Regions from separate parts of the Homo sapiens genome. Here region 2 is linked to region 1. Evidence: promoter capture Hi-C in 16 types of primary human blood cells and fetal thymus (Javierre and others, 2016). All regions are on one chromosome and are shown on one strand. The core of a region is centred on a gene start or on the middle of the fragment in contact, and the rest is flanking DNA. Distances in the headings are between cores, read along the strand shown.

Region 1 (5,272 bases), core at 2,742-5,241:
GCCATGACGGTCTTGATTGCCTGACCTCATGATCCGCTGGTCTCAGCCTCTCAAAGAGCTGGGATTACAGCCGTGAGCCACCGTGCCTGGCCCTGACATGACAATATTTATTATTTTGTTTCTGGTATAGAAACGCCACCACATGTCTACGTGACAACCCTCTAAGACAGATATTATGGGCAGATGAACTACCTAAGGCTTTGATTAAAATATGAGACTTAGCTGGGTGCAGTGGCTCACACCTGTAATCCCAGCACTTTGGGAGGCTGAAGCAGGCGGATCACCTGAGGTCAGGAGTTCGAGACCAGCCTGACCAACATGGAGAAACCCCATCTCTACTAAAAATACAAAATTAGCTGGGCGTGGTGGCATATGCCTGTAATCCCAGCTACTCTGGAGGCTGAGGCAGGAGAATCGCTTAAACCTGGGAGGTTGCGGTGAGCCAAGATCGCGCCATTGCACTCCAGCCTGGGCAACAAGAGCAAAACTCCATCTGGAAAAAAAAAAAAAAAGGGCCAGGCGTGGGGGCTACACCTGTAATCCCAGCACTTTGAGAGGTCGAGGTGGGCGGATCACGAGGTCAGGAGATCGAGACCATCCTGGCTAACATGGTGAAACCCCGTCTCTACTAAAAATACAAAAAATTAGCCAGGTGTGGTGGCGTGCACCTGTAGTCCCAGCTACTCGGGAGGCCGAGGCAGGAGAATGGGGTGAATCCAGGAGGCAGAGCTTGTAGTGAGCCAAGATCGTGCCACTGCACTCCATCCTGGGTGACAGAGTAAGACTCTGTCTCAAAAAAAAAAAAACAAAATGAGACTTGTTCTAGGTCATTTGGTTGAAACATGACACGGCTAGATGTCTGAGTGAAAATCAAAAGACTAAGTTTTTTCACATTCTTCACACTACACCAGGGTAAACACACTATTTACTGAAAAATGTAGGTATTTCTCACCTGTCCATCCACTAAAACAGTGCCTATTATTATTATTATATTATTATTATTATTTTGAGATGGAGTTTCACTCTTGTTGCCCAGGCTGGAGTGCAATGGTGTGATCTCAGCTCACTGCAACCTCTGCCTCCTGGGTTCAAGCCATTCTCCTGCCTCAGCCTCCCGAGTAGCTGGGATTACAGGCATGCGCCACCATGCCTGGCTAATTTTGTATTTATAGTAGAGACAGGGTTTCTTCATGTTGGTCAGGCTGGTCTTGAACTCCCGACCTCAGGTGATCTGCCCTCCTCAGTCTCCCAAAGTGGTGGGATTACAGGCGTGAGCCACCGTGCCTGGCTTTTTTTTTTTTTTTTTTTTTTTTTGAGACAGAGTCTAGCTCTATCACCAAGCTGGAGTGCAGTGGCGCAATCTCAGCTTACTGAAACCTCCACCTCCCAGGTTCAAGCTATTCTCCTGCCTCAGCCTCCCAAGTAGGTGGGACTACAGGCACACACCACCACGCCCAGCTAATTTTTTGTTTTGTATTTTTAGTAGAGACGGGGTTTTACCATGTTCGCCAGGATGGTCTCAATCTCTTGACCTCACGATCCGCCCGCCTTGGCCTTCCGAAGTGCTGGGATTACAGGTGTGAGACACTGTGCCCGGCCTATTATTTTTTTTAGAAACAGGGCCTTGCTCTGTTGCCCAGGTTGGAATGCAATAACACAACTGAAGTTTACTGTAGCCTCCAAACTCCTGGGCTCAAGTGATCCTCTGCTGCCTGCCTCAGCCTCCTGGGTAACTGGGATTATTAAGCACACACCACCATGCCTGGCTCCCAATTATCTTTTGAATTCAGATGTGAATTCTGAACCTCCATGATAGTAGAAATGGGTAAGGTAAAAGGGTACAACTGAACCAGTATATGATAAGGAGCTAAAAGATGGAAAGAAAGGGCAAGAAAGTCCTCTCCTCTGGGCTAAACACACCTGGGGGCAGCCCAAGGTTTCACTGGTAACAGCAACTCAAGAAAGACCATGGCTGGAAAAGTAGTATTCCCAAGCGCTGGGACTAGGATGCTGGATTCCAAGGAGAAGCTGATTCAGATTCATTCTTCCCAGATAATGTTAGTTACACTCCTGGGAAATCCAGGTATTAGCAATTCATCAACATTTTAGATACCTCATGGAGGGAGCAGAATCCCAAAGTAAGAAATACCACTGTACCTTGGGCCTCCAGTTTCTTTAGGGGGCGGTTGTCTGTCTTGTTCAATAGCTCAGTGATTTTGACCTTAGGTGGCCGACCTCGACCCCGTTTCACCTTGGGGACTTCCTTAGTCTTAGCCTTCTCAGTGTTTCGAGGTCGACCCCGTTTGCCAGTAATTGCCTGAATCCTCGACGGGATCTCCTCTGCTGAGAGCTGCACCCACTGCAAGCCCTAAGGTAGCAAGGGAGACTGTTACAGTAGTAAGGAATCAGTGCAGGCCACGAGGCCCTCGGAACCATTCAATGCCCCAGAACCTTCAAACCCCACGAGAGGAAGCTGCAGCTTGTCCACCAACTCTTCCTCAGGGACAAAAGCATATTTAACCCTTGGGTCTGCACCTCTGGCGTGTCTCTTTCTTCAAAGAAATCTCCAACAGGCATACGGGGACTGAAGCTGAAGTGCTCTCGGCGGACACTGTGTACCACGTTGCGGCTCAGGTACTAAGAGGAAGAAGTAAAGTAACATTAATAAAGTTGGATCCTACCATGTCTTTGGCCAGCAAAGGCATAAGCAGAACAGGCCCAGAGCAGACAATGCCAGCCTGTTGTCACTGAGCCCAAGAACGGAGTCTTGGGCAGTGGAAAGGAGTCCACTGAGCCCAAGAAAGCAGTCCTTTAAAAAAAGCTACATTACCTTGATCACTTCTGGAAATTGCTTCATCCTCTTCCCACAGGGGCCATAATACCAGGTCTCCCCCTGCCATCGGTGGCTGCCCTTCTTGATGCGCACCTCTCTCCGCCACCTGCCAGAGAAGCACATGGGCCCTGCCGCCAGGTCACACCCCTACCCACTCCCATGCCACCTAAGCGCGAAGCCCTCTGAGCAGATGGCCCTCCCCACATTTGTATCTCTAGAACTGCATGCAGATGCAAAAGCACCAAGAGAGATAAGCTTGGCTAGAAGGCTGACTTGAGCTCCAGCAAATACATCAAGGCCCTTAGGAGAAAAGCACTACACCAAACTGCACAAGCTCAGAGAGATCTCCATCCCTCCTTTACAAAATCAGTGAGATAAGCTGCCAGAAACCCCTCCCTGAGCCATTCAGGGCAGTTACTGGATTTCCAGTAAAGAGGATAAAGACCTAAGGGGAATAAAGACAGAAGACAAAGGGCAGGGAGGCAAGCAGAAAAATAAATTTGCTGCTGATTCCATGAAAAGACTCAATATGCCAGGGTTTAGTTAGGAACTCTGTGTTCTGAGCAGAACACAAAGTTAGTCAGAGTTAGTTCTAAGACTAACTCTAATCTTTCTCTCAAAATTTTAAGCAGTACTCAGACTTGGTGACCACAAGTAGCCTTGAGGGGCAGGGGTGGGGAAGATCCAGGAAGGCAGTTATTTCCACAAGGCCCTGGTGTCAGCTAGTTTGTTCATTTTGGTCATGTACTGTTCCTGCCCTTACCTCTCCTAAGAGCATTAAAACAACAAAACCACCTCAATTCATTAGTACTAAGTCACTCCTCATTCATTACTATCCCTTGTCCACAGAAATAGGACAAGCCAGCTGGTTTGGATGTGAGCCCTAGGGTTTGGAAAAGATAATAGCTGGAGCTCCTTGGGCAAAATTGAGTCACTACAAGATGAAAAAAGAATAGGTGATGGAAGACAGACCTTGAGAGAAGAAGGAAAACCTAGGAATCTCATGCCAAGAAACATTATCACTGCAGATAACTGTCCTGTAATCTACTCTTGTCTGGCCCATTCCTCCCCCACCTCAGAGGAAAAGAGGCATTCCCTTCTTTCTAGAGTTGTGCATTAAACTTGTCAAGGTCAATAAATGTAGCAAACTAGAGCATTTACCCATGTTGGAGGGGAAGACGAACTTCTTCTGGGGTAGCAATACGTCTCCTCATGACATCACCTTGGGAGGAAGGGATACCCAAGTTAAGAGTTCAAGCAAAATATTTAAACAATAGGCCAATAGGGAAAGGCTAACTACAACATGGGACAGAAAAGTTTCTTGGAACCAGACAGGGATAGAATAGAATCTGGATACTCACCACTACCAGAAGCAGTGAGTCCTTCTCCAGTGATCTCTTCCACGTCAGCAGTGGTTTCTAGAAAGCTGCTGACATCCTTATTTGCTGGGGAGGCTGTTGGAAAGGCAGCTGCTGGGGAAGTTACGGGAGAGGCTTTTGGGGATGTCACTGAAGCCGTCAACGGGACTTCTAAGGAGACTGCTGGGAGGACTGCTGAGGAAGCTGGAGAGACCACTGAGAAGACTGCTGGAGAGACAACTGTAGAAGCTGCGGGACAAACTTCTGGAGAGATTTCTGGGGAGGCTGCTGGAGAAACCACTAGGGAGACTGCTGGGGAGGTTGTTGGCGAGACTGCTGGTGAGGTTGCTGGATGTAGCTGAATAGTGGATGACTGATCAGGAGCTGGCTGGGTCAGGGATGGTGGGAAGTCTGAAGATTGAGTTTCCATTTCTTCCTGTTCAGCGTCACTACCATTATTCAGGTCAAAGCTGTTATCTAGAATCCAAAGGGACAGGATAGGCTTTAAAAAAAAAAAAGGCATCACATAAAACAAGAGAATCTACTCAGTCAACCCTGGACCAAGCTAAACAGGGTTACTTCAAGGGGTCTTCCCTAGGGTTGGAAAAAGAAGTAGCTTTTTCTCCCAACCAATCATGAGGATTAAAGGGTAAAGTTGCTACAGATGTCATTGTGTGAAGAAATACCTTTTACCTGGTGCCAATAAAGCTTCTAGCCTCCTTCTCCCTACAAATTCCAAGTCTCACAAGTTCTTCAAAGCAGAGGGCACAGGTCGGAGTATAGCAGCCTATACCTCTTTTAGTTCCACCATACACTATCCCATAGCCCCTCAGCTCCCAGCAAGGTGCTCTTGCTTTCCTACTTTTTTTTTGAGATGGAGTCTTGCTCTGTTGCCCAGGTTGGAGTGCAACGACACAATCTCGGCTCACTGCAACCTCTGCCTCCTGGGGCCAAGCGATTCTCCTGCCTCAGCCTCCCAGGTAGCTGGGATTACAGGCATGTGCCAACACACCTGGCTAATTTTTGTATTTTTAGTAGAGGCGGGGTTTCACCATGTTGGCCAGGTGGTCTCAAACTCCTG
Region 2 (5,285 bases), core at 1,702-4,201, 520 kb after region 1:
GAGATTCCAAGTAGCCAAGATCAAAGGGTGAGCTAAATGCGTTCATACGGTATGGAAAGGGATCAAGCTAAGTTAATTGAAAAAAAGGCAAGTTACAGAACACTATATATCATATGAGTTTCTTTATAGTTTTAAAGGATATTCACTTATATTTGTATGTTACTGTTTTATTTATTTATTTATTTGAGACAGGGTCTCCCTCTGTTGCTCAGGCTGGAGTGCAGTGGCACGATCTCGGCTCACCACAACCTCCACCTCCTGGGTTCAAGCGATTCTCGTGCCTCAGCCTCCCCAGTAGCTGGGATTACAGGTATGCGTCACGATACGTGGCTCATTTTTGTATTTTTAGTAGATATGGGGTTCCGCCATGTTGGCCAGTGTGGTCTCGAACTCCTGAAAAGTGATCCTCCCACCTTCGTCTCCCAAAGTGTTGGGATTACAGGCATGAGCCACCACGCCTGGCCTGTATGTTACTGTTTTAAAAACTCTCCTGGCCGGGCACGGTGGCTCACGCCTGTAATCCCAGCACTTTGGGAGGCTGAGGAGGCCAGATCACGTGGTCAGAAGTTCGAGACCAGCCTAGCCAACATCGTGAAACCCCATCTCTACCAAAAATACAAAAAAAATTAGCTGGGTATAGTGGCGTGTGCCTGTAATCCCAGCTACTTGGGAGGTCAAGGCAGAAGAATCGCCGAACCCGGGAGGCAGAGGTTGTAGTGAGCCGAGATTAGGCCACTGCACTCCAACCTGGGCAACGGGGCAAGACTCCGTCTTGGGCGGGGGGGAAACCTCTGCTGGTAGGGGAGACCTGAAGAACTGTTAGTAGAAGTTACTCTGAGGGTGCAGCTGAAAAATGGGGGTGTGGAGAGCATCAAGTTTCCTTTTACTTTTTACCTTCCTGTACTTTTTTTAACCACTAGGTATTATCTTTTCTTTCTTTCTTTTTTTTTTAACAATATAAAGTTAATAAAAATACACATTCACATTCAGGAGACAGCAGGGGATGGGAGGTTGCAAGTGAGAAGTGCATGCTGACTGAGGCCAGGTTTTGGAAAGCCATGACTGAAGAGGAGTTCACATTTGACTGGTCTATAGACACCCACTAGAGGTTCCCCAGCAAGGAAGAGACACCGGGAAAGCAGTTTTTGGAAGATTCACCTGACAGATGGGTAGGGGGAGGGAGGAAAGCCCCTTCAAGCCCTCAGGCTACATGTGGTTGCTCCAGATACCGTTTTCCTCTCAAAGCTGTCAAGCTGTCTAAAGTCTGTTTCGACCTGATTTCACTTGGATCCCAATACTGGGAGGGGCCCTGGGAGGAACCTCGTAGGCATTTGGTGAGTCCGCATAGTGCGTCTCACATTGTGTTGGGCCATGGGAGCTGGATAAAAGGAGAAATAAGACCCCGTTCCTGCCTGGAGCAACTCTCTGGCAGTGGAAATGGAGGAAATCTGAGATATACTTCAGAGGAAAAAAATGACAAGCCTGGAGCACAGGCTGGCAAGATTGGATATAGGAAGGAAAGGCCCCCTTGAGTTGGCATAAAGTCTGAGGTTTCTAGCCCAGGAGACTAAAGGCAGGTGGCCACCGCGCTGAGCAAAGCCGGCTGGAAGAAGCTAAAGGTTGAGCTCACTGTCATTAGGAGGCAAGTCCTTCGTGCTGCTCCTGTTTCTGCCAAGGACAGACTGGAGTGGGGACTTTTCCGTAACTAGAACGTAAAAGGGGGAACAGTCCCTCCTCTCCAGCGTCAATTTTTGGCAGCCGACGTCGTCTGCCCCGCTCCTTGAACTCTGACATGCAGACACCTAGAAAGTCAGACACTAAGGTAACAGCCATAAAACGCCGCCCAGAAGGGGGCAGTGACCAAAAGCACGTTCACTGGCCCCTGGGAACCGCCTGGCGCCTGCCTTCTGCAAAGTATCATTCCCGTGTGGGCTGAGCCTGGGGACAAAGGTCCGGCGCTCAGCAGACACCTCCTTGGAACCCGAGGCCTGGAAACGAAGGTCCAGAGTCCCTCATCTTATTCCAAATCCTGGCGCTCGGAATCTAAAACCCTAACTTGATGGCAAGCCAGTCAGAAGGTATTAAAAAAAAAAAAAAAAAAAAAAACAGAAAAATAAATGAGCCCCGACTTCTTGGGCGAAAGGGGGTGGCCTTTCCTCAACCCCACCCGCTGGTGACTCACCTCCCTCCAAACCAGGGCCTGCCCCTCCCGCGCCTAGGGCTGGGCGAGCAGGGCGGGCGGGTACTAAGGTGGGCTCCATCCCCGAGCCCCACGCGGGCGGACAAGCTCCGGCGTGTCCCCTCGGGTGTCCCTGTTTACTCCGAGCCCGGGAGCGAGGTGGGGGCGGGTCCTCGCGGTCCCTCCCCAACCCCGCCCCCTCCTTCGCAGGCCCCAATCCCAGTCCGGTCTTCCAAAGTCTCCAAATCAAAGCTCAGCCTTTCCCTGCACCTTCCCCGCGGACTGGCGGTCCCTGTCCCCACCCCGGGCAGAGGAGGCACCTTCAGGGTTCCCCTAGAAAATCGAGCCTCGGCCCAGACCACTGAGTCCCGGACGCCCCCGGAGGGAGCCTGAAATCCTAGAGTATGACACTGAGTTTCAAAGGGGAGCCGCTCAGCTCTCCGCCCACTGCCCAATCCCACCCTCGACCCCTTCTGCTCTCTGGAGCACCAGGGAGGAGGGCCCAGCCAGGGGAGAGGGCGCCCCAGGCCCCAAACTAGCCAGCGAGTCCCCGGGACCCTCACTCTTGGACCGCTTTCCAGAACTCCGAACCCTGTCGCGGGTCCGCGTCGCCCTCCCCCGGGCAGCGCGTCAAATCGGCGCATGCGCACTCACTGGATTGCCGCGTAGCTCTTTCTCCCCCCACCCACCAACCTTTTTTCTTTCCCCGCCCCTTCCCTCCCTCCCTCCTCAACCCGTCCCCTCCCTCTCCCCCATCAGCCCCCCCCTCGGCACTTCAGTCCGGGGAACAGCGGTGCGAGCTCCAGGCCCATGCACTGAGGAGGCGGAAACAAGGGGAGCCCCCAGAGCTCCATCAAGCCCCCTCCAAAGGCTCCCCTACCCGGTCCACGCCCCCCACCCCCCCTCCCCGCCTCCTCCCAATTGTGCATTTTTGCAGCCGGAGGCGGCTCCGAGATGGGGCTGTGAGCTTCGCCCGGGGAGGGGGAAAGAGCAGCGAGGAGTGAAGCGGGGGGGTGGGGTGAAGGGTTTGGATTTCGGGGCAGGGGGCGCACCCCCGTCAGCAGGCCCTCCCCAAGGGGCTCGGAACTCTACCTCTTCACCCACGCCCCTGGTGCGCTTTGCCGAAGGAAAGAATAAGAACAGAGAAGGAGGAGGGGGAAAGGAGGAAAAGGGGGACCCCCCAACTGGGGGGGGTGAAGGAGAGAAGTAGCAGGACCAGAGGGGAAGGGGCTGCTGCTTGCATCAGCCCACACCATGCTGACCCCGCCGTTGCTCCTGCTGCTGCCCCTGCTCTCAGCTCTGGTCGCGGCGGCTATCGACGGTGAGTGAGATTCCGCGTCCCCCTTGGACCCCTGGGGGCACCCTCTCCCCAGCCCCCACTCCTGCATACGGATGGGGAAGGGAGACGCGGGAGGGGGTGCCTTTTGTTATCCCAGTCCAGCTGACACAGCAGCGGCCCGACTGGGGGCGGGGATGGGGTCCGATTTGGGGGATGGGGGCCCTGGGCAAATGATGCTTCCGGGGCCCCCCAGCACAAACAAAGACCAGAGGCCTGGGTAGAGAGAAGAGGGCTCCCCATTTTTCTGATCCTGGGGAGGAGAGGCCTTCTTTTCCTATCTCTGTTCGGGGAGGGCCTCCGCCTCCCCTACATCCTCACAACCCCCCACCCCCCATCTGAATTGTGAAGGAATCCGGATTTGCAATGTTCGGCTGCAAAAGGGGGTGGGGGTGGGGGGGGTGGCTTTTGCACTGGCCTCTGTAGCTCGAAAGGGGAGCCAGGCCAGGGGTACCCTGCCGGGCAGAGGGCAGGCAGGCCCGGGAAGGCTGTGGGTGGGGAGAGGGAGGGCCCCCTGCTTGGGCGTGGAATCGACCCCAGAGCCCCGGCTGGAGGCCTGGGTGCTGAAGTAGGCTCTTCCCCCTCTCAGGGCCTCTGTCAGTAGCCTGGGGTAGGGCTGTGTTGGGGGGCAGAGAGGGGGAGCTCGCCATACTATGTGACTTTGAATTTTCCTTCTTAATTCCTGGGAGCTTTGAGATGAAAAAACGTCAGATGTCATCACTGGGGAAGGGGACTGGAGAATGGCCTGGAATGCTGGGGTAGGAGGGTGGGGGAGGCTGCCTTCTTCCTGACTTCTGGCTTCATCACAGTTTGGATTGGAAGGAGAGTTGGAGGTTGGATGGGGATTATGGCTGTGCCCCCACACTCCTTTAGTAAATCTGTTTATTCCCTGCACCCCTCCAAGCCCAAAACCCCATACACACACACTTTGTATATTGCAGAGTTAGGCTTAGGCTAGAACTGCATCCTTTTGGGGAAATGGGGTGCCTCTCTTCCCTTTTTTTGTCAGCTGTTTTTTTCTCCTACTTGTGAGTCACTGGTTCAAGTCTTGCCCAAGCTTTAAGCATTAAGCTGGGGTCATGGGGTTGGGCTGGGCTAGGTCCCTGATTTGAGAAGGGGTGGGATCTCATCCCCTCCTGTCATCTTAGCCCTCTCATCCAAAGACAAAACTGGGCTGGATACCATCATACACCCCCTCCTCTGTCTTGCCAGATTGGGATTGGGAAAGTTTTTCTCTGAAACCAGATTATCTCCCTCCCTCTCCCTAACTTGCTTCAATTGGGGGAGGAGACTTACAGGGTCAGGAAGCAGCTGTGTCCCCAAAAAACATATTTAGTGTCCCTCAGTTGTGCCATCTTGGGGACTCTCTACCCCCCACCCCCACCCCACCAATTAGCTGCCCCGGAGGAGGAGAGGGGCTTTTCCTGAATATCCTCCAGATGCCGCACAGCCGGCTTCTGCCTATAACTCCTGTCATTATCATGTGTTTTTCTCTTGTTCTCAGCCCTGTGAGGTGAGAAGGGAAATCGAGGCAGGGAGATTGGGGTTGCAGCCGCTTCTGGGAGGAATAGAAAAAAAATTTGAGAGAGAGAGAGACCCATCAGGAGCCCCTTGAAGGAGGGTGGCTAGAGTTAGGCAGAAGCAAGAGGGTTTCTGTGGAGAGCAGGGAAGGTCAGGAAGGGACCCCAGATAGCATCACTCCCAGGGCTCTAAAGGAGTTCTATTTGCCACACCAAGTTAGTGGAAGAGAGAGACTGGACATGTTCTCCT

What was found. Contacts are between HindIII fragments. The CHiCAGO score rates a contact against its expected background, and 5 or more counts as called.
Region 2: the fragment with the promoter of LRP1 here is called in contact with a fragment that was not itself captured in region 1 in 1 of 17 cell types (monocytes); the score reaches 5.2 in monocytes.

What each region holds. Positions count from the first base shown.
Region 1 is chr12:56,607,579-56,612,850 of GRCh38, forward strand. It overlaps BAZ2A (bromodomain adjacent to zinc finger domain 2A), which reads right to left. Exons shown (of 29, transcript NM_001300905.2): 6 at 4,195-4,668; 7 at 3,995-4,055; 8 at 2,831-2,939; 9 at 2,536-2,637; 10 at 2,158-2,368. Among named protein-coding and RNA genes, the nearest start is that of BAZ2A, 20 kb to the right of the region's middle. The HindIII fragment of the contact is 1,811 bases long and covers 3,087-4,897 here.
Region 2 is chr12:57,125,532-57,130,816 of GRCh38, forward strand. It overlaps LRP1 (LDL receptor related protein 1), which reads left to right and starts at 2,952. Exons shown (of 89, transcript NM_002332.3): 1 at 2,952-3,500. The coding sequence starts at 3,434. RefSeq lists an enhancer at 1,959-2,612. The HindIII fragment of the contact is 5,123 bases long and covers 1-4,570 here.